4 separate regions of the Homo sapiens genome follow, and all the other regions are linked to region 3. Evidence: promoter capture Hi-C in 16 types of primary human blood cells and fetal thymus (Javierre and others, 2016). All regions are on one chromosome and are shown on one strand. Each heading gives the region's core, a stretch centred on a gene start or on the middle of the fragment in contact. The rest is flanking DNA. Distances are from core to core; before and after follow the strand shown.

Region 1 (5,708 bases), core at 1,700-4,199, 290 kb before region 3:
ATGAATAAACAAAGCATGGCATATACATAAAATTGAATTTTATTCAGTCTTAAAAAGGAAGGAAATCCTGTCACACATTGCAGTATGGATGAACTTTGAGGACATTATGCTAAGTTTAATAAATCAGTCACTAAAAGACAAATACTGTATGATTCCACTTACATGAGATATCTAAAGTAGTCAAATTCATAGAAACAAAAAGTAGAATGGTGGTTATCAGGGCTTGGGAGAAAAGGGGAATTATTGTTTAATGGGTATAGAGTTTCAGATTTGCAATATGAATGAGTTATGGAGATCTAGTTCACAACAATGTGAATATACTCCACACTACAGAACCACAAACTTAGAAATGGTTAAAATGGTAAACTTTACGTTATGTGGTTTTCACAATAATAAAAAGTAAAATTAAATTAAACATGCTAAGTTTCAGAACAAGAAAAAAATAATAGAATTATATACTCATTGTTATAAAATCTTATTTTATTCCCCTAACATGTCTTGAGATTTGCTCATATTAGTTCATGTAAAGTTACCTCAGATTAAAAAAAAATTGTAGAATATTCCATTGCACATGAGTATGACTAATAATGTGAGTATAATATAAAGACATTCTCCCTACTTCATTCTTCATGAGTTCTGCTTCTAAATGAAATAAATAGTAAGGAAATTCACACTGAATTTAACTGGAGAAACAAGTTCCTCAGTTTCCTTGTTAAGATAGTCATTCACTATATTTTTATCTGGTAACATTATTTTCTCCAGTCTGAGGAGAGCAGAGAATTATGGCCAGACTCTATTTATGGGCGTACTAGATTGGTTTGTTTTGTTTTGTAACTTGGCAGTAAAGGTGAAACTAGCAATACCAAGATTACATTTATCTGGAATATATATATATATATATATATATAATATATTATATATTATATATAAATCAATAACTGTTTCTCAGTTCACTTTACTTTCATAGGTCACAGTTTTTATTTGAAAAATCAAGAAATTCTTGATAATTAATTCAAAGTATTTGACCCTCAGTTCTAGTGCTATACCTTCTTCCAGGGGTTTCACAGCAAATTCCTTTTCAGTGGCAATACCAACTGACTTGAGGAAAGTGGTTGGGGCGTTGTGTTGGTTTTACATTTCCTACAGTCCTGTTATCCAACTACAATTGGACATAGTAGACATTCAACAATGTCTTTGTTGTTGAGGGGTGCAATTATAACTTTATTTCTGTCTTCACAATAAGACAAATGGAAAGTATAATATTAGAATAATTAAGTTATAAGATATTTTACTAAAAGTACAAGAGTAGTAGTATTAACAGCATTCAGTACAACATTTTTTTTTAAAATTTTCTATACCAGAGATTGTTTTTGGTCTTTATATATGTTATTTCTAAGTACTTAAAAAACAGACTTACAGAATAGAGTTGCATGTTTAAACAAGGAATTAGGATTCAGAGAGTTGAAGTGAGTTATCTAAGAACACAGAAAGTAGCAGAAATACAAGTCCAGATCTCTCTGGCTTCTGTTCTTTCTTACCATTACATCCTGTTGCTATAGGAAAAGATAAGGTTGTACTTTCTAATGCTATCTTCCTAAGTAATACCTAATCTAAATAAACTTCTGATGGGTTTCTATACTAATAAGAGAAAACTCCATCAATCAAGTGTGGAAGTAGTCTTTCAATTCAATATTTAGCTATTCAATAAGAAACTTAACATTTTATTTTTAAAATTTAAAACATACTTAGAATTCTAACTTAGTTGAAACTATACATTAGAAACTGAATGACCCAATCTCCGGTCACAAAGATCATGTAAAGTTGAACTTTGAGTCAAGGTTGTTTGCTTACCAAATTTGGTATATGTTAAGTGGCATGTAGCTTCCATAAATATAGAGAACACAAAAGGTCTTCACCACATCTGAGTTTGGGTAACACTTCATTTCACCAAACACAAATATAATATAGCTTTTCTATTCTATATTTATGGGGCAGGTGTTCACCGTATAATAATAAGTTTACTAAAGTAATGTCAACTGGCAAAGTATACCCCACAAACAATACTGGTAAATACAGTAGATTCATGGGGAAAATGTGCTGTTTATTTCTGTTTTCCGAATGGAAGGAAAAGTTATAGTACATGGCAATTACCTTGAGGCTTTCTGCTTCACGAAAGTTGGCTTCCAATTTCATTACCATAATTCTGCAGAACGCAGTCAGTTGCGGTCACAGTCTCTGCCAACCCACCTTCAAACTCTCCCTGCCAATCAGAGCAGAACATCCTGTTGTGGGAGTGGAGTAGTTAGAAGTTTCATGGTATATCTTTCAGAAAAGAATAAACTAGCATTATAATTGAGGTCATTGCCAAAACATGGTATTCTCATGAAAAGATGTGATAGGATTAAGCTGTCATTAATGCTTATTAGCCGGGGTTGGGGGGAAATCTTTCCTAAACAGAACTTTTAACTTAACTGGAATTAACTGAGGCTTTTTCTAAGTAAGTCAACTCAAAACAGTGGATATTTACTGTTTTTGTAACATGTGCAAGATGCTTTCTTACTATTTTACAGACCATAATCTATAATATTATCATTTAATTTTTGCATATTTTAGATATAAATCCACTTGACAAATTAATATTAAGCACCTAATTTAAAGGAACGAAATTCTGTGCTGATAAACTATTGGCTCTGTGTCTTAATTATTCCCTTGCACTCTTTTGTAGAATTGCTATATGTGAAACCTAATAGAATTTAAATAATAATTTTTGTTCATTAATTTATCTGTTATTGAGTACTAAACAATGTTCTACGTGTAATGTGTGATTGAGTACTAATAAAAATTCTATGTTCTAGGTGTAATAGAGAGAAATAAGGAAAATAAACTGAAAATGAAATGACTACTATAACAATGGCATATGTGGGGGTTATTGAGTTGCAAAGGAAAAAAATTCTTTCTGACAAGATCAGGAGATGACTTCCTATAGAAAAATGCAAAGTTAAACAAGATTGTCATTTAAATTACCTCAACTTGATTCCCCTTGGGGGATTTCTACTTAATAATTTTCTTTCTATTTTGGTACAGGCCAGCAAAACTGCTCAGACTACTAAAGGAGCATATTTGTGGGCACTGTCTGACTCGTATGAAGATGCACATGTGAGAATGTAGGTATTCAGATCGAAACCAGATAAATGTATTTTTCAATGCTGTAATTTTGAAAGATGAGCCTAACAGAAAAGCCATCTTAACATAAAAGTATATCTAATTCTTTATGACTTTGAATTTGTTGCATTTAATTTTCATTACAAATATTATGTAATTTGGCTTCTGAAATTAATATATACAAATGTTATATATTTTCTAGTTTCTTTTTAGAATGACAGTAATGCAAAACAAATGCCAAAACCTACTCTTGTCACCTGCACTAGAAAGGAAAAACATTCACCAACTAGCATGGGTCACTTACTTTCCCAGAGGAGAGGAAATAATAAAGACAAACAGCATTTTGATTTTTTTTATTTGATGTGATAGTAAATCTACTACGATTTTTGGTAACAGCTGTGAGTAGGTGTTTAAAAGAATATTTCTTTCCTGTTTCTTTTGGTGACATAAGTCACTTTGATTCTTTCTCTTTGACATCAATATGAAGGAAAATGTTAGTCTAAATGCTCCATGATGCCAGAAAATATACATTGTTTTGTGCATTTTCTAGAGAATTAATGTTAAACAAAATGTCATTATTAAAAATTTCCAATTTTATTAGGATATAGTTTTTTTGGTAATTTAAACATTTGCATTACTTAGTAATCAGCTACAGTGCTAATAGATAACATGATATATTAACCTAAACTGGTTTTCCACCTGAACATTTTATACCTGCTAGTATGTTTAAAAGATGAGTAAGTGTCCAATTAGGAAACAATTTATGCAGCTGATATAATGAAGCACTAGATTTGCGAGTTGGCTTTCTCAAATCTATTTCCTTAGGAAGCTGCACATTTTATTTTTTACATACGCCGCACTTAGAGTGCTAATGGAAATAAAGATTAAGCAATAATAATGATAATAATACTACCCTATTAAAACATTGCTATCCCAGTTGTTGTTGTGATAGTGGTGGTGATAATGGTGGTGGTGGTTTGCGCCCTCCCTCTCTCTGTATCTTTGTCCTTCTCTCTCTTATTTTCCTTCTTCTTCCTCTTTTTTGCATCTTATTTGTCCTTCTTTTAGTTACAATTTTATCAGACTTATTAAATAGAGTCACAGATAAGTTTTGAAGCATTCACTATCAGGAAATTGTTTAGAAGCACACTTCCATATTTACTATCTCATATATGCATGATACATATAATATTATGGAGAGCAATTGAGGTCATGCCTGGAATCATCTGATGATGTCCCAAGACTAATCTAACATAAGTTCCATTGTTATTCTCATTCCTTGTGATTCTATGACTATGGATTTCTACTCAGATATACTATTCCTTAAAATATTATAAACTAAGATTTTTAACTTAACAGATTTTTAACATATATGCTTCAATTATTCTATTGATTAGAATCCTAATAATGAAAAGATAACTAATGGCAAAGTAGTTAAGGGTATTATATACAATATATGTTGATAGAACATATATGTTGATAGAACATATATACAATATATGTTGCTTTTATACTTTGTGTTAAAAGCATTGTTGAAAACATAAGCAAGTTCTACCTATTCTTTGGTTTCACAATGATGACAAAATAAACCTTAAAATCTGTTAAAGAGTGGTGCAAATATTCATAGGAGACTTTAGAATTGACACTAAAATTACTTATCTATATCTGCTATCTATCTATCTATCTATCTATCTATCATCTATCATCTATGTCTGCTCTCTAACTATCTATCTATCTATCTATCATCTATCATCTATCTATCTATCTATCAGTCTCCCTCATCTCCTGTCTTCACCACATCTGATGGTTTGGGTTTTTCAAAAGTTAATGATGTTTGGGAAAAGCAGACACAGTCTGTTGTCAAGTTTTCACTTGGTCTAAATTCAAAATCTATGAGAATAGACATTCCTGGTTACACAAGATGCAGAGTCAGACAAACAAAATTACAATGACATATCCTCCAGTTTTCAATCTAATCCATGGCATTTTTCTAGGAATAAAATAAAATCTTCCGAGGCAAACTTTGTTTACAGGTAGAATAACTGCTTCGAGTAGTTTCCTCCCTATAATGTATCATTTGTCTGCATGCTTATAATAAACATTCATTTAGTAGTTTATCTGAACTGTCAGGGGATTCAATAAAATTCTGTTGAGCATAAAATAATTGAGTTTGCCATTCTCACATACTGAAAGAATGTTTTGAGTTCAGAGAGAGGGAAACAACTCACATAAGATTACTATAGTAAATTTTTTCCAATAGTGTTTATTCTGAGAAGACAGTGGAAGGTACTTGAAAAACAAATGAGTCTGACTAAACTTCTATGCCGCAGTAGCGAGCAATGTAAGTTGTTTATAGAATAGTGAAAGCATGGAGACAGATGCCTCTTTATTTTCTGAGTTAACTCACTTTCAGTGACATGAAAGGAAACTGCGGGATGGTGACTAACACAAGTGGAAAGAGTGGAAATGCTCAAGAAAACCAAAATAGAGTTGGTGTTTAAGACACTTCCTTAATTGTTGCTTCTTGACTTAACTCCCCCTCTCTT
Region 2 (5,475 bases), core at 2,514-5,013, 270 kb before region 3:
AAATATCACAAATATCCCTAACATTTAAAATAATTCAGAAGACCAATTTCAGAAGACCCTTCCTAAATGGACATGTGCTTTGATTTCCAGTCCTAATGATCTGGTAGCTTTTCAGGTATTTGTTATTAAGATTGGTAAATAATACTATTCCTTCCAAGGTAAAATTAGATGAGCCAGAGTCTGGAGGGTTATCTTTCATAAGGTTTATTATAAAGTTATTTATTTTATATGTATTCTACATAGGGAAGTAGGAAAACAAGTATATATATATATATATATATATATATATATATATACACACACACATATATATATACGTATATATATGTATATATACGTATATATATGTATATATGTATATATACATATATATACGTATATGTATGTATATATGTATATATGTATATATACATACATATACGTATATGTATGTATATATGTATATATACGTATATATACGTATATGTATGTATATATGTATATATACATATATACGTATATATACGTATATATACGTATATATACGTATATATGTATATATACATATATATATGTATATATACGTATATATACGTATATATACACACAAACACACACACACACACATATATACACACCCTGGTAGTCTGGAAATAAATAAGTATGCTTAAAGTTGCCATACTTCCCATTTATTGTCTCACATAATTAACCAGGTGTTCACAGAAGCCAACTTTGAGGTTTCTAAATTCTTTCCATCCTCTCTGAACCCTTGGGATAACACTTACCTTAGCGAAAGATCAGATTCCTTCAGAGCGCATGAAGAGAACTGTTTATTATAAGCTATAAGTGCCAAATGATTTATTGGAAAAACAGCAAAGGTTATTGCACCCTACTCTACATGAATGCCTCAGAGTTTTGTTGTTGTTGTTGGAATTTAGCTGATTTCGTTAAAGAGAATGTAAAGTACTACTGAACATTGTAAATAAATATAAAAGTCACAATAAACAAGAGCTACCTTTTCTAAATTAGACACCTATTCTGTCTAACCAGGTAAATCAACAAATGAAAAATATTGCAGTACAGCACTTTTAGAAATACCAGAGAAAAAGCACATTAACCAAGACTTAATATCAGCCAAGTGTTAGAAGTTCAACTAGCACATTATATTGCCAATATATATGCTCAAAAAAATACATTTTGAAACATTATTCCTCCTATGCTAACAGAAGAATTTGAAAGCCATACATCGTCGATGAAAGATGAAAAACAGAAAATCTTTATATTTATAATGTTATTTTTCATAAATGTATAAGAGAAAAGTTTGATTACAGCATTTGTAACTATAGTCTTGCATTTATAATTCTTCAAATATTAACATCTTCAAAAATACTTGTTAATAATTTTGATAATGTCTCCCATAATGTCAGTGATGTAAAAAAGCATCAAGTCCTGAAAAAACCCTCAGTTAAAATAATTACTCTTTATTAAAGCTCAGGGACTTATATTTCATTCTGTCCTAGTCTGATTTCTTATAATCATGATTTGGCTTGAGTTTAAGGTACCACCATTAAGATGAAATTAGCACATTTTTACTTACAATTGTCTTGAAATTTATAGAACAATCATCTTACTTTAAAGTTTAGCTTTATTTCCAGTGGAATAGAAAAATCATATGCATTGTTCATAATATATTTGTTATGAAAGTAATTTATTTTAACACAAGAGTATTAAGTGTTGAAGTAGGGAATAAGCTTATTTTAATATTATTCTATTAAGATAAGCTCAATTTTTAAAAAATGTTTGTGTTTATGATAGAAAATTAATTTCAGAGATTTATCTTCTTAATCAGTTCCAATAACTTACTAATATCCTTCAAAAATATTACTAATATTTCAAACAGTAACTATAAATTGTTTTATAAACAGCCTTTCAAATTAGCTTCTTGTTAACTAACAATAATGATTTAGAAAACGGGCAAATATTTCTACCTTATACATAAGATAGATGACTTCAACTCTAAATCTTTTCACCTAAAATCTACTTGATTTGCCATTAAAAATAATAAAATAAACTGATTATTTTAGTAATTATTTTTACTCTTATCTATGTTAAAATATAAATAAAATGAAAATGCATAAATGCATATATATCACAACAATAATTTTCAAGATTTTCTGATATATTGTATTGTAATAGGATGATAAGTCTTCTGTATGAGTGCCTAAATGGTTGTGTTAAGATGATTGATATATTTGGTAGCATTAACGCTTAATTCTAATCTTGATTTCAGAAAGTGACAAAGAGATTTCAAAGCTGGTTTTAATTCATGATAAAGAGCAGCCCACATGCACTCTGACTAAGGGTATGGAAGGCTGCTTATGGTTAAAGAAGAGATAACGTTGATATTTACATTTTGCAATCCAACTGAGTTTATTAACATTTAAAATATTTTATTTTGGCATTTTTTTCATATTAAATGTTGAAGTTTTCTTATAATGTCAATTAGACAGCAACTAGACACCAACATATCAAATATTTTGGAGAAATATTATTAAGACAGAGGATGGAAAGGTTAATTTTATTACAAAATTGTGCAATCTCCTTTGAAGGCTTAAAAAATTGGCCCCAAGTCTTCACCCCTATTCGTGTTTACATCTTAGCAACAGCACTTTGACGTTTTTCCCATCATGAAGTGGAGTCTGTTTCCCCACTTTCCCCACCACTTAGTTCTGGATTGGTTTCATGATGTATTTGATTAGTAGACTTTGGCAGAGGTGATACGGTAGCAGGGATAAGCCTAAGCCTCAAGAAATGTGAATGCCTCTGCTCTCTCTCTCTCTTGGATTCCTACCATTCTGTGAGCCCAAGCCCAAGCTACCTTGAAGATAATAGACTATGAGAAGTGCTGAGTGCCTCAGCCAATAGCCGTCTTTCCTCAGAAACAGACCACAGATGCCTGAGGGTGCCCAGTCAGATCAGAAAATCAGGCCAGCTAAGTCCGGCATAAGTAACCCACCTATAGATTTGAATAATGTTTATTATTGTGTGTTACTGAGCATTATGGTTGTCTTATAGCATTATTTTGTTACTAGATAACACATACATTCCAAATCTATGTCATGTTTTGTTACTTTCTTCCAATTTTCTTCATGTTGATCTCTCATTATCTGAGAGGACTGAATTGTGTGGATAAAGCAATGCTGGCTAGAAAAAGAGAGAATTAGGACTAGCCCCCAAGTTTTCTATATGTGCAAACAAAGAAAATATATTCCAATTTCCAGGGTCTCCTTTTCTTCGTCTGTATGATGTATATGTATTATGTGTTGTGAATGATGGAAGTGAAATGAAACGTTTCATGTCTCAGTGTTCCACTGCTCTAATATTCGATGATTCCATGATCTTAAGCTAAACAGGTTCTAAACTTCTTACACAACTGTGCTATTCATGTTCTCACAAATTAATCTGACAAACCAAAGCAAACTGTTTTTAAAGATAAACAAAAATACACTCTATAATAGTTTCCACACAATAATTTAAATAGTAAGAAAATTACTTATTAAACTTCTTTCTTTAGGCCAAGGAATGCTAAGTGGTTTATATATGTCATCCTAAGGAATCTTTTCAACAAAAATGTAAGATAGTTACTACCATTCTCTATTTTACTGTAACAGAGAAACTGAAGCTCAGAAGAGTTAATCAACTTCTCTAAGTTTACTCAATAAATGGCAAAGCTATATTTCAAACACATGTCTGACTCTGACCCAATGTCCACCTATCCACCTATAGTCAAACAAGTGTTTTTGAGGCTTGTCTTAAGTGCATAGCTGACGACTTGTCAGATATTAAGAAATATTATTTTTCAATGACTCCAGAAGTTACACGGTTTACCTATGTGTGAGCAAAGCTCCTACCAGACCATAATTAAACATTTCCTGATTCAGTGATGCATTATTTCTTTGGTAATTAAAGAATACTTCTAAATCAGGATATGCAGGGGGAAGTGATACAACAAAAATAGTGATACTTAATGGTTCTCTCTGTGTTAAATCAGTTTCCTGAGTAAAAGTTGTAAAAAGCAGAGTTTGTGCCCCCCAAAAGATAAGAAACTTAATCAAGTGACAGTCACTTTCTTTTCTTTTTAGTACAATATCATACAAGATATAAGTGATTTTGTGATGATAGTATAGGTATTTATTAAACACCTATTCTGTGATGAGGATAGGAAAGTATAATACATAGTCTATCCTCAAGGATGTCATCATTTTTTCAAGATTAGATACACTTTGGATATACCACATTGGTCCCATGAACAAACTTGGCAAAGAGAAGTCAGCCTATCTCGATAACATGGGTGGGGGAACTGAAAATGGCCATGTGGTCTTGAATTGGGAATTGTGGATAGGATTTAGAATCTATAGGCTATGTCAGGAGAGGACACTAGAGACCACATTTTCAAATCTCTTTCTTTGCAGGTAAGGAGATTGGTACCCAGGAAATATAAAGATAGGGCAAAAGTAACAGCCTACAAAAGGTTGATTCTATCCATACAAAAGCAGGAAAAAAAAACACTAATAGAATAATCAACTTCAAGACATACTAGTACATATTTTTATGTAATTATGAAAATTTACTTTTATCTGGTGAAATAGGAAATTTGGATTATACTTGTCAATATATAAAATTAAAATCTTTTATAACTCTCTCAATGTCATTTATGGCTCTTAAGAATGAGTTGTCACTTGAAAAACTATATAATTATTGCTTATCAGAAAAGGAAAAGTGTTTCAAAGAGACAAATTTTTTTCAGAGATATTTTGGCTCTGAAAAGTTACAGGTAGACAGAAAGATAAGTTTTCCTCATTACAACTTAGAAAAACAGAGGTTTTCTACAGTTTACATCTCATTTGGCCATGAGATAACAATTAAAATTATAACAAATTTCACTATTTATATTTTCAAGTAACATATTATTAAGTTAGTTACATCTAAGTCAATTAAGAATTTTACAAAGTAGACCAACTTTCTGACAATTTATGTTCTTTCCTTTTCTCTGCTCCCTCTCATTTTCTTTTGTTAAATTAACTAGACAAAATATCAAACTAATATATTTTAACAATTGTAGTTATGTTTTTGCATTATTATTAATTACATTTATTTTATTAGTCTCAAAAATCAAATTTAAGTATTTTTTTGCTAATGTAGTCCTCAAGATTCTTAACTGGAAAAACTGTTTCCCTATGAATTATATTCTACATGTTTGCACTACAGCTAAATAAATTCCTAAATCTAGGGCCTGAGAATTTTCTAATTTAGTGGTACTAGTATTTAATAAAAATACTTAGTAGTAAAGCATTTTCATTTAGTTACTTACCAACCAAAGAATAATAGCCTTACCTTGTTCATGTGTTTAAACTAACCATTTAACTATGTGTTTGTGTGTGTGTGTGTGTGTGTATGTATATATACATAAAACCACATATAAAACTGTATATGTTT
Region 3 (5,460 bases), core at 1,469-3,968:
GAGTAGTATGTCTCAGAATAGCCTAGATTCTCAAGGCACACAATTTATTTATTCAATAATGTTTCCAAGAACATGAAAGTTATTTGTTTTCTTTCCTTTTTCTTTTTGTTTGTATTTTTCCCCTTGGACTGAAACAGGCATACAAGCAACAATTAGGTGGTTTTAACTGATGATATACACATCGCTTTCAGTGAAATTAAGGCTCACTCGTTAAATCTTGAATAGTCACCCTTGAAGACAAACTAAACTGCACAATACACCTTGTATTTTAGCAAAACTTTTTGTAAAATATACTTTTTTTCCCACTGGGTTTTATTTTAAGAATTTAGATAGGGTATTAGCCCTATAGGACAGAATACCAAATTGCTTTTGATGAAAGTAGATCTCAAACTCTTAGAAAGGGTTGTTAAAACTATCTTGGTGGGACCCTATACAGTTATTAGAAATTCAGAAATAAATCCAGTGACTGAATATTAACATTATTTCTACTGTTTTTATTAACTCGTTTAACACACAAATATTTGTTAAGCACCTAACACATTCAAGACATTCAGGGAAGCAGCCTGAAGATTACGGAGCCATGGACACAGCTGAGGCCATTCATCACATTGGGCAACATATTAACAGTTGATTCCATCTGCTTTGTGCTCAGAGTCATTAAAAGGAAGGAAAGCACAGAATTCACGTTCCAGATGTTGTTTTCTCATGATATGTTCAGGATACTCTGGTAAATTCTGTCTAAATTTGAAGTCTGAGCATCTCAAACTAAATCAGTACAATACAATGTCACAGGCATTGTATTAGAGGCTGAAGAAACAAAGACACAAAACAGCCAACACTTTTGTATGGGATGCAGACACATGCATAACTAATTATAATATAAAGTGAAAAGAGCTTATTATAGTAGTGAAATCAAAGTGCTTTGGGAAAACAGGAGGGAGTGATTAATTCTGTAAGGGCTTTATGGAAAGTATTGAATGGTAGCAAAGGAAGGTGTCATTTGGTTTAAGCATATTAAGCTACAACTTAAAAGAGAAAGGAGGAAAATGGGAAATCCAAAGTTAACCACAATTCTAGTTAAACACAAAATTCTGGCCAATAAACTGACAAAATTATTTAAAAGTTTAAAAATAGAGATTTTCTAAAAATCAAAAACTACTTACTATAAACCCACCATATACGGGAGAAAAAAAGAGATATTTTATTTGCACAATGACATTGCAATTTGCATGGAAGTGCAATGACATATACAAATGAAAATAATATAAACACATAGAAACATACAATAAACAATTGCATGACTATGTACAGAATGAGTGGTATAACATTAAATATAAAGCATTCAGAAAAAAAATAAAAGTTGCTATAGTTTGAAATAGTCTACGAGGATTTAAAATTTTTTTCTCTATCCAAAGAGGGTATTTATGGGGTTGATTGGTTGTGAGTCCAAACCAAGGTTATAGAGATGGGGCAGCATGAGACACAAGAAAGAGCCTTGGTCAGATTTGAGAAACCTGAGCCTTTCCTTAGCCTGACTCTGCCATCAACCATTTATAACTTAAAATGACTCCTTTAGCTTCTGTGGCCCTCAGCCCTCTGCCACAGATAAAAGGTCAAATGAAGAATGTCTTCCACCCCTTTCAGTTATTCCATTACTGCATTTGTCTGTTCACCATCTCCAAATCAAGATATCTCTTGTTACTTGCTAAGGAAGCTTTGGGACCCTACACCTTGTGCTCTTAAATCAAGCTGACAAATGCAGGATCCCGTGGCTGCTTGCTTTCCATGTCTCTACCTCATGTCAGATTTATGTTTGGGACTAAGGGCAAGGTGTGTGACTATAAACCTGGATATCCCATCACAAAGGATTTACCATGCAGCTAAAAATGCCTAACGTACAGGGCTCACCAAATGCACAGGCCTTTTTAATGTCCCTGACGGTGGCCTCATGAACTCTCATTGTCATATATTTTTGCAGAATCTGTAGAAGTGAGATATTTCTGCATTACTTTTGCTTAAAGAGGATCCTCTATTCCAATTGCATAGGATCCAGGTTCATCAAAACTTAGATCTTCTCGTCATTATATACTTCTAAGTTCCTACTGTGTGAATAAGGGGTGCAAAAATCTAAAAAACTCCCGAAGACAAGGATATGAGGCACACCTCTTTGTAGGTCTGGCGTAAGGGAAAGAGGAAGAAAGGATTACATTCTACTCGTTTTTATCTCTCCCTGTTTGGTCTTAATCGGGTGCCAGCCCCTTAACGGAGGGTTGATCCCTGTTCCTCATCCCTATGCCTGCCTTGTCAAGGCCATTAACCGTGGATTGAGGTTTTACATAGTGGAACGCAGGTACTGTTTTGTGGGATTAGCATTTTTAGGACGGTGTTTGTGGTCACTCTCCCTGTTTCTTCCTCATGGGGTCCCTTAACAGGTTTTATGGTATAGAGAAGGAACTAAAGAAGTCCCCAAGTCACCCAGAAGGAAGATCAGACGTTAGAGGTTGCTTTACACATAGGGTGCCCTGTCCTGATAAACATCCGTCAGCGCTTGGCCAGGGCTACCTCTAAATCCACGCTGCTGGCAGCCTCCGCGCAGCAGGGATGAACTTCTGCACGCTTGGGAGTTCTGGCGTGCGCAGTGGAAGGAGGGGGCGAGGGCTGGGGGAGGAGATCGGAAGGGGAAAGGTAATCCCCGGCGTTTTCAGCATCCTCTTTTTAGAAAGACTGAGTCTCTCCCAGGACAGCTGCTGCGGTCACACCACAAACTTAAAAGCCGCCCTCCTGTTTGGAGCGTGCCTTTCCTCGCCACCCTCTCCTCCCCAAAGCTCCAGCTGGTGCCTTGCTCTCCGCCTGTCCTAGCGCGGCTCTCGGGGGAGGCAGCAGCGCCCCCTGCCTCCCGGCCTGGCCCCTGCGGCCGCAGCTTCCCGGCTCTGCCAGGGCTGCCGGCGGCTCCGCTTGCTCAGCCAGGGCTGCGGCTCAGAGGAACGCGCGCCGGTGCCCCGGGTTGCCGCGCCGCTGGACCTCAGCCTGCATCCCGTTCCCCTCTCCCTGAAAAGGCACCAGGAAAAGAGAGAGGGAGAGAAGAGTTCACAGCAGGTAAGTCTGGTTTGGGTCACCTGCTACTCCAGTGGGAGGGTGTGCTGGAGACCGCGGTGCTAAGCGGGGATAGCCGGGATTTGGGGGTGGCTGTGGGTCCGAAGTGGAGGACGAGCATGGTTTGGGAGATAAGGAACCGTCCTGAGACAGAGAAGGCTCCCGGGAGCGGACAGAGAGTGGGCGAAATCGGTGCGCAGTAATCGCGGCGCCAGCTTCAGCGCGGCCCCTGGGGCGCAGTCCCACCCCGCCTCAGCAGCTGCGGAGCCTTCTGACGAGCCTCCGCCTGGCAGCACTGCACAAAGTTTTCCTCCTGAGACGCGTCCAGGAACTTTGCTCTCTCCCTGGCTTCCTGGTTCCCCCACCACCCCTCCTGGTCTGGGCAGCAGAGAGCGTCTATGAATGTGTCCCCGGCTTCCGCAGGCTGCAGGTTCATTTGGAGACGCTTTAGTCGGGAACATCCGGGGAGTACTTGACCAAAGGGCATCTGCGCCCTCGCTCGCTCCTTTCCTTGTTGGTCTGGGAGAAGGGAAAGGGGCAAGGAAGAAGGAAGGGAAGCGTGGTGGTTTTTGTTGTAGCGTTTTGGAAGAGGAATGGGCGACGCCTTTTTCTTCGCCGGGGAATCGCGACGTTCCGTCTGATGGAAGTGTGCATCCTTTTAGATTTAGAGGGAAAGTTGGAGTCAAACAGCAGCCACAAAGCTGGCTGTCTGAAATGTGGTTAAGGCAAAACACTCGGGGGATCTCTTTGTAGTAGTGGGCTTGGCTCGCTTTGGAAAGGCCGGATTTGACTCGTGCTGGGCATTTAACCAGGAGTGCGGTCCCCAGGGTGTTTCCTCCCGGCTTCTGCCCAACGAGCCTGGAGTTAATGCGTTAATGGGCTACCCTGGTAGCGCACGGGCCGTTTTCGGCACTGTTTCTCCTTCTCTGATGACTCGAGTTCAACCTCCTGGGCTGAGTTGCTTTGCCTCCGTCACAGTGCAAGGAGGGAAGTTGACAGGAGGAGGAGACGCCGCGCTGTGGCAGGGAGCTTTGGGATCCAGGGGACTGGAAGAGAGCCGCGCGCCAGCAGCTGGGGCCGCTGGTGTCCGGGATTCCGAGTTATGGGGACAGGAGTTAAATAGCCGAACTTTCAGCGATTTCGCCTCGAGCGAAGCGGTAATAAAAGGCAAGCTTCTGTGCGTGGACTCTTATTTCATCACCAAAACCCCACCACTTTCCGTTTAGCTTAGTGCTATTTGCACAAGCAAAAGAAGAGGGGAGAAGACCTAAACTTTCCGGTTTAGCCTAAAAAGGGTTCTCCTGCATGTGTGCGCTAGCGGGGGATGGCGGGGTGGGGGCGCGCAGAGACGAGGGGGAGGATCTCCTAACAGAGAGGGAAGGGTTGAGGCGGAGGTAGAGGAGAGGTCTGAGACATCTCCTGGGTCTGGTGCTGCTGCTATTGTGTAACCATGGCAACCGCGGGGGCAGGGGTGGTCAGAGCCTTCCCAGTTCTGCACGTGGAAAGAAAAATGTGAAGGGCAGAGAAGGGAGAGAGCCACATGTCATCACTCCAGTGATGCCTTGCCTTCTCCTTTTTGTTCTCCTTTTCCTTCTCCTTTTCCTTCTCCTTTTCCTTCTTCTCTGAGGCCAGATAGCAAGGAGGATGAGCAAGAAGACACACATGTCATCACTCCAATGATGCCCTCCCTTCTCCTTTTCCTTCTCCGAGGCCAGACAGCAAGGAGGATGAGCAAGAAGATCGGGGTTGGGAGTGATCAGCCCCAGCTGGCCACTGCTTTAACCCAGTCGGGTCTTAGAGTCTCTGAGACTCGCCCCAGCGGATAAGACGGGTCAGGGGTGCCATCGCTGACAGGCGCAAAGTGATGGCCCTGGTCAGGGAGATGGGCAATGACCTTGGCTCTTGGAAGGGAAAGGCCAGGAAATACAGGAAGGTGATGTGGGACGAGATAAGAGTAGGGTCAAGGGCTGACAGACAGTAAAACAGTACTGATTCGAATTGCCAAAATTTCCAATGGAATTTGCCCAATTGTGAAATGGAAAGTTCCTAGAGAAGGGAAGAAACATTTATCAAACACCTATTGTGTTTCAGGTGCTGTGAACTTTATCACAATTAATATCCTCAACAATATGATACAAGTGTCATTATTCTCTTATTCTTTTCTTTTTGAACAGAAAAGAAAAAAAAAACAAAGACATAAAGATTTATAAATGGGTATTGTCCCATTTTGGCTTTTATGTTCTTAATGAAGAACCGTAATTCTTAAAAAAAAATTGTATTGCTGGGGGAATAAGCTAGGTAGTTATTATTTTAGAGATGATAATAAATGAGATGCAAAAATGTTGCTTGATGTGCCCAAATATAAGC
Region 4 (5,335 bases), core at 1,655-4,154, 300 kb before region 3:
AATGAATCATGCAGTTTTTCCCTTGCCTTATTCTAGGTATTTTTAGACTATTTTTAATTTGGTTGCTATGCAGACCCATAGAATTGAATCTTTTTCCTCTTCCTGTTAAGCATTTCATTGTTCCAGAACTGAATTGCAACAAAATGTATTAACATTTAAAAGTAATAAGTATTTAATTTCTATATAATGAAGGCATTACCTAAATTTGACAGTGCTAGCGAAATTATAATGAAAAAAATAAAGAACAGTAGAAAATTGTTTATATTATGTCCATGATAATTTGTTCAGGAAAAATAGCCATTTCTTTCTTGGAATAATATGCCTTCCCCCTTGAATCTTGAGTGGATATTTTAAGGACAGAACCAGTATCTTATTGATCTTTGTCTTCTCCAAGACAAAGTAACAAAGTTACCACAAATGAATTGGCAGTAAAATCTACCAATGAATTTAGATATTAGGTGCTTAAAATTCTAGTTAATGAACATTTTCCAGTCAAAATACTAAGGATATTATTCAAAGAAGAAAATAAGTTTTGCTTCTGGAAGAATTACTAATTCTGGCTTTATATATAATTAACAATTTTTCAACTCTTAACCTGTGCTTACTTCTAAAATAGAGCATGTAGATAGTGTTTTAAATACAGCATTTTAAATTTAACAGCTTATATTATGGTGAATTATTTCTTCCCAAAATTTACATGTTGAAGCCTTAACCCAGAGTGCCTCAGAATGTGACTGTACTTGGAGATAGGGTAATTAAAGAGGTAATTAAGTTTAAATGGAATCATTAAAATGGGCCATAATCTAGTATATGTTGTGTCCTTACATGAGGAGGAAATTTGGATACAGACACACACAGAAGAAAGCCCATATGAACATACGCAGAGAAGATGACCATCTGCAAACCAACAAGACAGGCCTCGGAAGAAATTAACCTGGCTGACACCTTGATCTCGGACATTTTGCCTTTCAGAATTGTATGAAATAAATTCCTGTTGTTTATGTCATCCAGTCTGTGGTACTTTGTTATGGCAGCCCAGCCAAACTAACACAGCTAGCTTTTAAAATAAGGATATAAAATATTCCACTTCCATGGAGTTATCATTTTAATAAGATATGAGTGTTGTGTTTCAGCCATATGTTAATCTCATTATATATGGTTTTGTAGGTAAACATTTGAAATTTCTATCAAAACCTGTTACTATTTTCCTGTATAAGTTTTGAGACTCTTATATTAACACCGCTATTGTACTGTAAGAGTAATCATTGGGGCTCAATTTAGAATTCTGAAAAAATATGTAAATTAAAATTTTGGTTTAAAGTAAAATTGATGGCTTTTAGAGGACCATGGTCTTGTATAGATTTAAACAAGAAATGGTAAAAAGAAAATTCAAATAAAAGACAGGAGTTTAATAAAGAATTAAAAATTTAATAAAGAAACATTGGATGTCTACATCCAATGTTTTCTTTGGCTAAATATGGAAACCCAAACATCTAAAGGTTTTGTTTGTTTGTTTGTTTGTTTTGTTTTATGGAAAAAAAAACTTTGGAGAGTGTATCCCCAATGGGTAAACTGGGAAGAGTATAAAAAATAAGTCCAATAAAAGAGGCTGATATATTTTTACCAACTTTGATTTTAGCATGAGGAAGTAATTACAGCATGGAATTATAAAATGCTATTTATACATAAAATGTTTGGAGATGGTTAATTTAAAAATATATCCCAAGTAATTTACAGAGAAATGATACTCTGCACCTTCAGTTAATTACTCCACAAGGAAAACAAAAGGCAAGTTTTCTCTGCTGTTTCAAATTTGTGATATGGCCCCTCAGATGTCTTTGGTTAGATGCCATAACTAATGAAAACACCACCAATTTAGTGATAATTCCCACACAATCTTCTTAGTGAAGTTCATAGTGGAGGTAGAGAGGTACTGGTAAGCCCTAACCTCCTGAATAAACCTATCTTAAAAGTAGCATAAATCGCTGGGGGTAATTTTTTTCTTTTTTAATGTTGTTAGTACTGTCCTCTATAAGACATCAATGTTTTGCTCATGTGCCCATTTTTATAGGTAATTCAGAAAAGTAAAGGTGACCAAATAGAAAATGAAAACTAAATTTTTCATAAAACTACCTGTGTTTTATGTCTAATCTAATATTTTTCCAGGCATAGATGGCACACCCAAAAAACTATTGTATAGATATTGCTATTCTTATTAATATGTATTTTTTCCTTAACTATAACAAAAAGGAAATTAAATGTTAACAATAACGGGTAATATATTCAAGTATACATGGTATAAGTCAAGATAAAATTCTGAAATTAAAGTTTTCAAAACTTAAAAGGTAATTTGAAAGTAGCTATAGTTTTGTAGTTCTAAAACTATTAGAAAACCTTCCTTATTTTAGATGGATTGCAATGTTTCTAATGTTGTTCAGGTGCCAGGATTATAGAGAGCAAAGCTTGTGAGAACTAGGCTTATTTGGTGAAGAACCAAGGAGGAGCCTATCTGTATAGTTCACCCAATTATTGTTATCCACCAAGACTGTTTTGAATTAAATGAAACATTACATGTATTTTAGGGCCATACGTGCTGATATATGCAAACACAGAATCTTGGTCTCTGATTTATTCAGAAAAGGAAAAAGGAGAAGAAAAATTTTTAAAAGAGAAAAGAAAAAAGAAAGGAAAGGAAAAGGGAAAATGGTTAGGAAAATAATTGGTGGCATAGAAGTCTGCCTTCACATTCCAAATTTTAAAAATCTAGATGTGGCTTATTAAAACAAATTTGGAGAGGAGTAAGTGAAGTTCATGAATCAAAAATATTAGCTGTAATAGTATGAAACTTCAATCATATTATGAACAACAAGCAATATTCTCCAAATTGTTTTCTAAGGCAAACTGCAAAAGACAACTTTTCAAAGAAGGGCAAGTATTGCCAAAATCTGATTCTTACTTGTCATGAATACAGATTGCTGAATCACTCTTTCTTTATGTATTTGTCAAATGACACTCAGATATTTTTAGGTAAACATATTTAATTATTCCTGATTTCTAATTGAGCCTTGTATGACAAATCAGTTAATGTAATGGAATTTTTGAATTCATGATTCTAAAACCATACTTCAATTAGCAATGATATCCTACTCCTCAACCAACCTTAGTATCTTGAGGGAAAAAAAAACCTGTGTATCTCTCAATTTTATACAGCACTGTAATTTACATACTGTTGAGCACATAGTAATCATTTACTGTTATTTGAGTAATGAATGAAATTAAGAAAGAAAAGATAAATGGGTATGGATAATGAGACCATCTGTCCCAGTCATTGCACACCCAAGCTTGTCAATTACAGCCAACGCATAAAGCAAAATTGAGATAAATTTGCTGAAAACGATTGTAGCATAAAGCTAATCATACTACACATGGAATACCCTATAACATTGTCAATAAAATATAAGACTTTGATTTCAATAATTAACAAATTTCACAATTACCACCAGTTGAATTATGTCTAGATTTCTCTGGACTTTCAGTTCTCTAATTTTAATTGTCTACTAGATAAACTGCCCAGAAGAATTCATGGAACTACAAATTTAATAGGGTGAAAGCCAAGTCTACTAACCTACCTCTCAATCTAATAAAAATGTCTGCAATATACAAGTCCCAATTCAAAATAACAGAAATGTTTAGCATAGTTTGTCAAATGTATTTCTTAGCTAGTTAGGCAGTATAATTTCTACTTTGTCAATACATTTCTCCTTTCCTTTCTTTTCTGTCTCTCTCTTTTTTTTTTTTTTTGTACTTTGTATGGCATCCTCATTGTTCTCTTATCTCTTCATTGGTGTCGTTATCTCCTCATTGGTTTCATTTCTTTATTCTTGCCCTATGTTATTTCATTCTACTCAAGACTTCAGATTAAATTTTCTAGATCACACTTAGAAAATGTAATTATACTAAAAAAAAAGCTACCAAATTTAATAAAAATTGCCCAAGTCAGCATCCAAAATTAAAGCTCTGCATAGTTTTCACGATTTAATCCCAATAATTTCCTATGGTCACAAAAGTCTAATACAAGCTCATAACTTTGCTTCTCCCTAAAATGTCACCCTCTTTCTGTGTGTTGAAATCCTTCAGTCTCATAAAGTGTAGAATCAATTTTGTGAAGACTTCTTGATATTTCCAAACAGATGTGATACCCTTATCCTCTAAATTGTTCCAATGATATTTGACAGTGCTAATTATAATGTGTCTAGGTGTTTAGCTATTTTTATAGTTTCTTAAGCACATCTGATGCATCTATGAACTACCTCATTGTGGGAACTCTGCTCTATTCTGCATTGTATTTATTATAAAACATAGCTCCAAATTTTATACAGAGTAGTCAAAAAAGCCATGGAATGAAACTTGAAAGTCAGCAAACTAAATAAAACTTGATTACTCAAATCCATGTCTAAGAGCCTTTGCTGTCTACAGAAAACTCGGTTACCTACTTAGGGAATCCCTTACCACAGTGTTTGATAGCTACTCTGTGACTCAGAGTAAACATCTGGATGTCTGACTGGAACTATCTTTGTGGTTTGATGATCTTTGAAAAAATAATATATTTGAAGGACTGTTATCAGTGAAAATGCTTTTTTAATCCTTTTTCCATGCAGGTACTGACCACAGAGAGGAGTCCCAGATGACTAATGTAGTGGAAAAATTTACTATTCTTTAGCTATTTTTTGTCTGGAAGATTGGTGACCATATGTAACTCATGCTTGATGCTGAATCAGGGAAAGAAAATGAAAGGGAACCATTGGTATAGTTGGGCGAATGGCCCAGACATACGCCTACACTACTGTCAACTCTAAATAAAGAATAAAAAAGCCATGACCTAAGTCACCAAATTGAACCTTTTCCTGGTAAATATAAACTTAGTGCTTAGAAGATTGCATATAAAATGGCATTAGAGAATGTATAGTATTTCTTAATGTAATATACACATTACAATAAAAAACACTTGGCTTATTTTATACAAATTTATTTTAAATAATACTGTATATATGAAAGAAAAATCACATGGAAAACCATAATTAGCTTTCTGCAAAACATATGAGGAATTCTATTAAAATATGTTAAGACAAATATTTATTATATTTAATAAGACATAAAAATACAAACATTTGGTAGAAATTACAAGGTGTAAAATGTAGGACATGATTAAAAGTTTTCCTAAGTTAACTGTAACTAGTAATTTATTGTTTTATATTTATAGATAGGACATTTACAAATCAACTACATAAGACACATAAAAGTTTTATATCAAAGCAGATGCTATCTATATTCTTGC

What was found. The method cuts DNA at HindIII sites, captures the fragments that hold promoters and counts their contacts. A CHiCAGO score of 5 or more calls a contact.
Region 1: a fragment that was not itself captured here is called in contact with the fragment with the promoter of SEMA3D in region 3 in 3 of 17 cell types (total B cells, naive B cells and megakaryocytes); the score reaches 14.3 in total B cells.
Region 2: a contact is called between a fragment that was not itself captured here and the fragment with the promoter of SEMA3D in region 3, in 3 of 17 cell types (total B cells, naive B cells and megakaryocytes). The highest score is 33.8, in total B cells.
Region 4: a contact is called between a fragment that was not itself captured here and the fragment with the promoter of SEMA3D in region 3, in 2 of 17 cell types (naive B cells and total B cells). The highest score is 10.3, in naive B cells.

The regions. Positions count from the first base shown.
Region 1 is chr7:85,471,804-85,477,511 of GRCh38, reverse strand. LINC00972 (long intergenic non-protein coding RNA 972) reads right to left here. Exons shown (of 4, transcript NR_134240.1): 3 at 2,152-2,260. Among named protein-coding and RNA genes, the nearest start is that of LINC00972, 54 kb to the right of the region's middle. The HindIII fragment of the contact is 6,248 bases long and covers 1-5,708 here.
Region 2 is chr7:85,455,382-85,460,856 of GRCh38, reverse strand. The region is part of intron 2 of LINC00972 (long intergenic non-protein coding RNA 972); the gene reads right to left. Among named protein-coding and RNA genes, the nearest start is that of LINC00972, 37 kb to the right of the region's middle. The HindIII fragment of the contact is 4,061 bases long and covers 1,733-5,475 here.
Region 3 is chr7:85,184,314-85,189,773 of GRCh38, reverse strand. It overlaps SEMA3D (semaphorin 3D), which reads left to right and starts at 2,718. Exons shown (of 19, transcript NM_001384900.1): 1 at 2,718-3,096. RefSeq lists a silencer at 2,847-2,906. The HindIII fragment of the contact is 2,551 bases long and covers 1,717-4,267 here.
Region 4 is chr7:85,489,014-85,494,348 of GRCh38, reverse strand. LINC00972 (long intergenic non-protein coding RNA 972) reads right to left here. Exons shown (of 4, transcript NR_134240.1): 4 at 5,011-5,335. Among named protein-coding and RNA genes, the nearest start is that of LINC00972, 71 kb to the right of the region's middle. The HindIII fragment of the contact is 879 bases long and covers 2,465-3,343 here.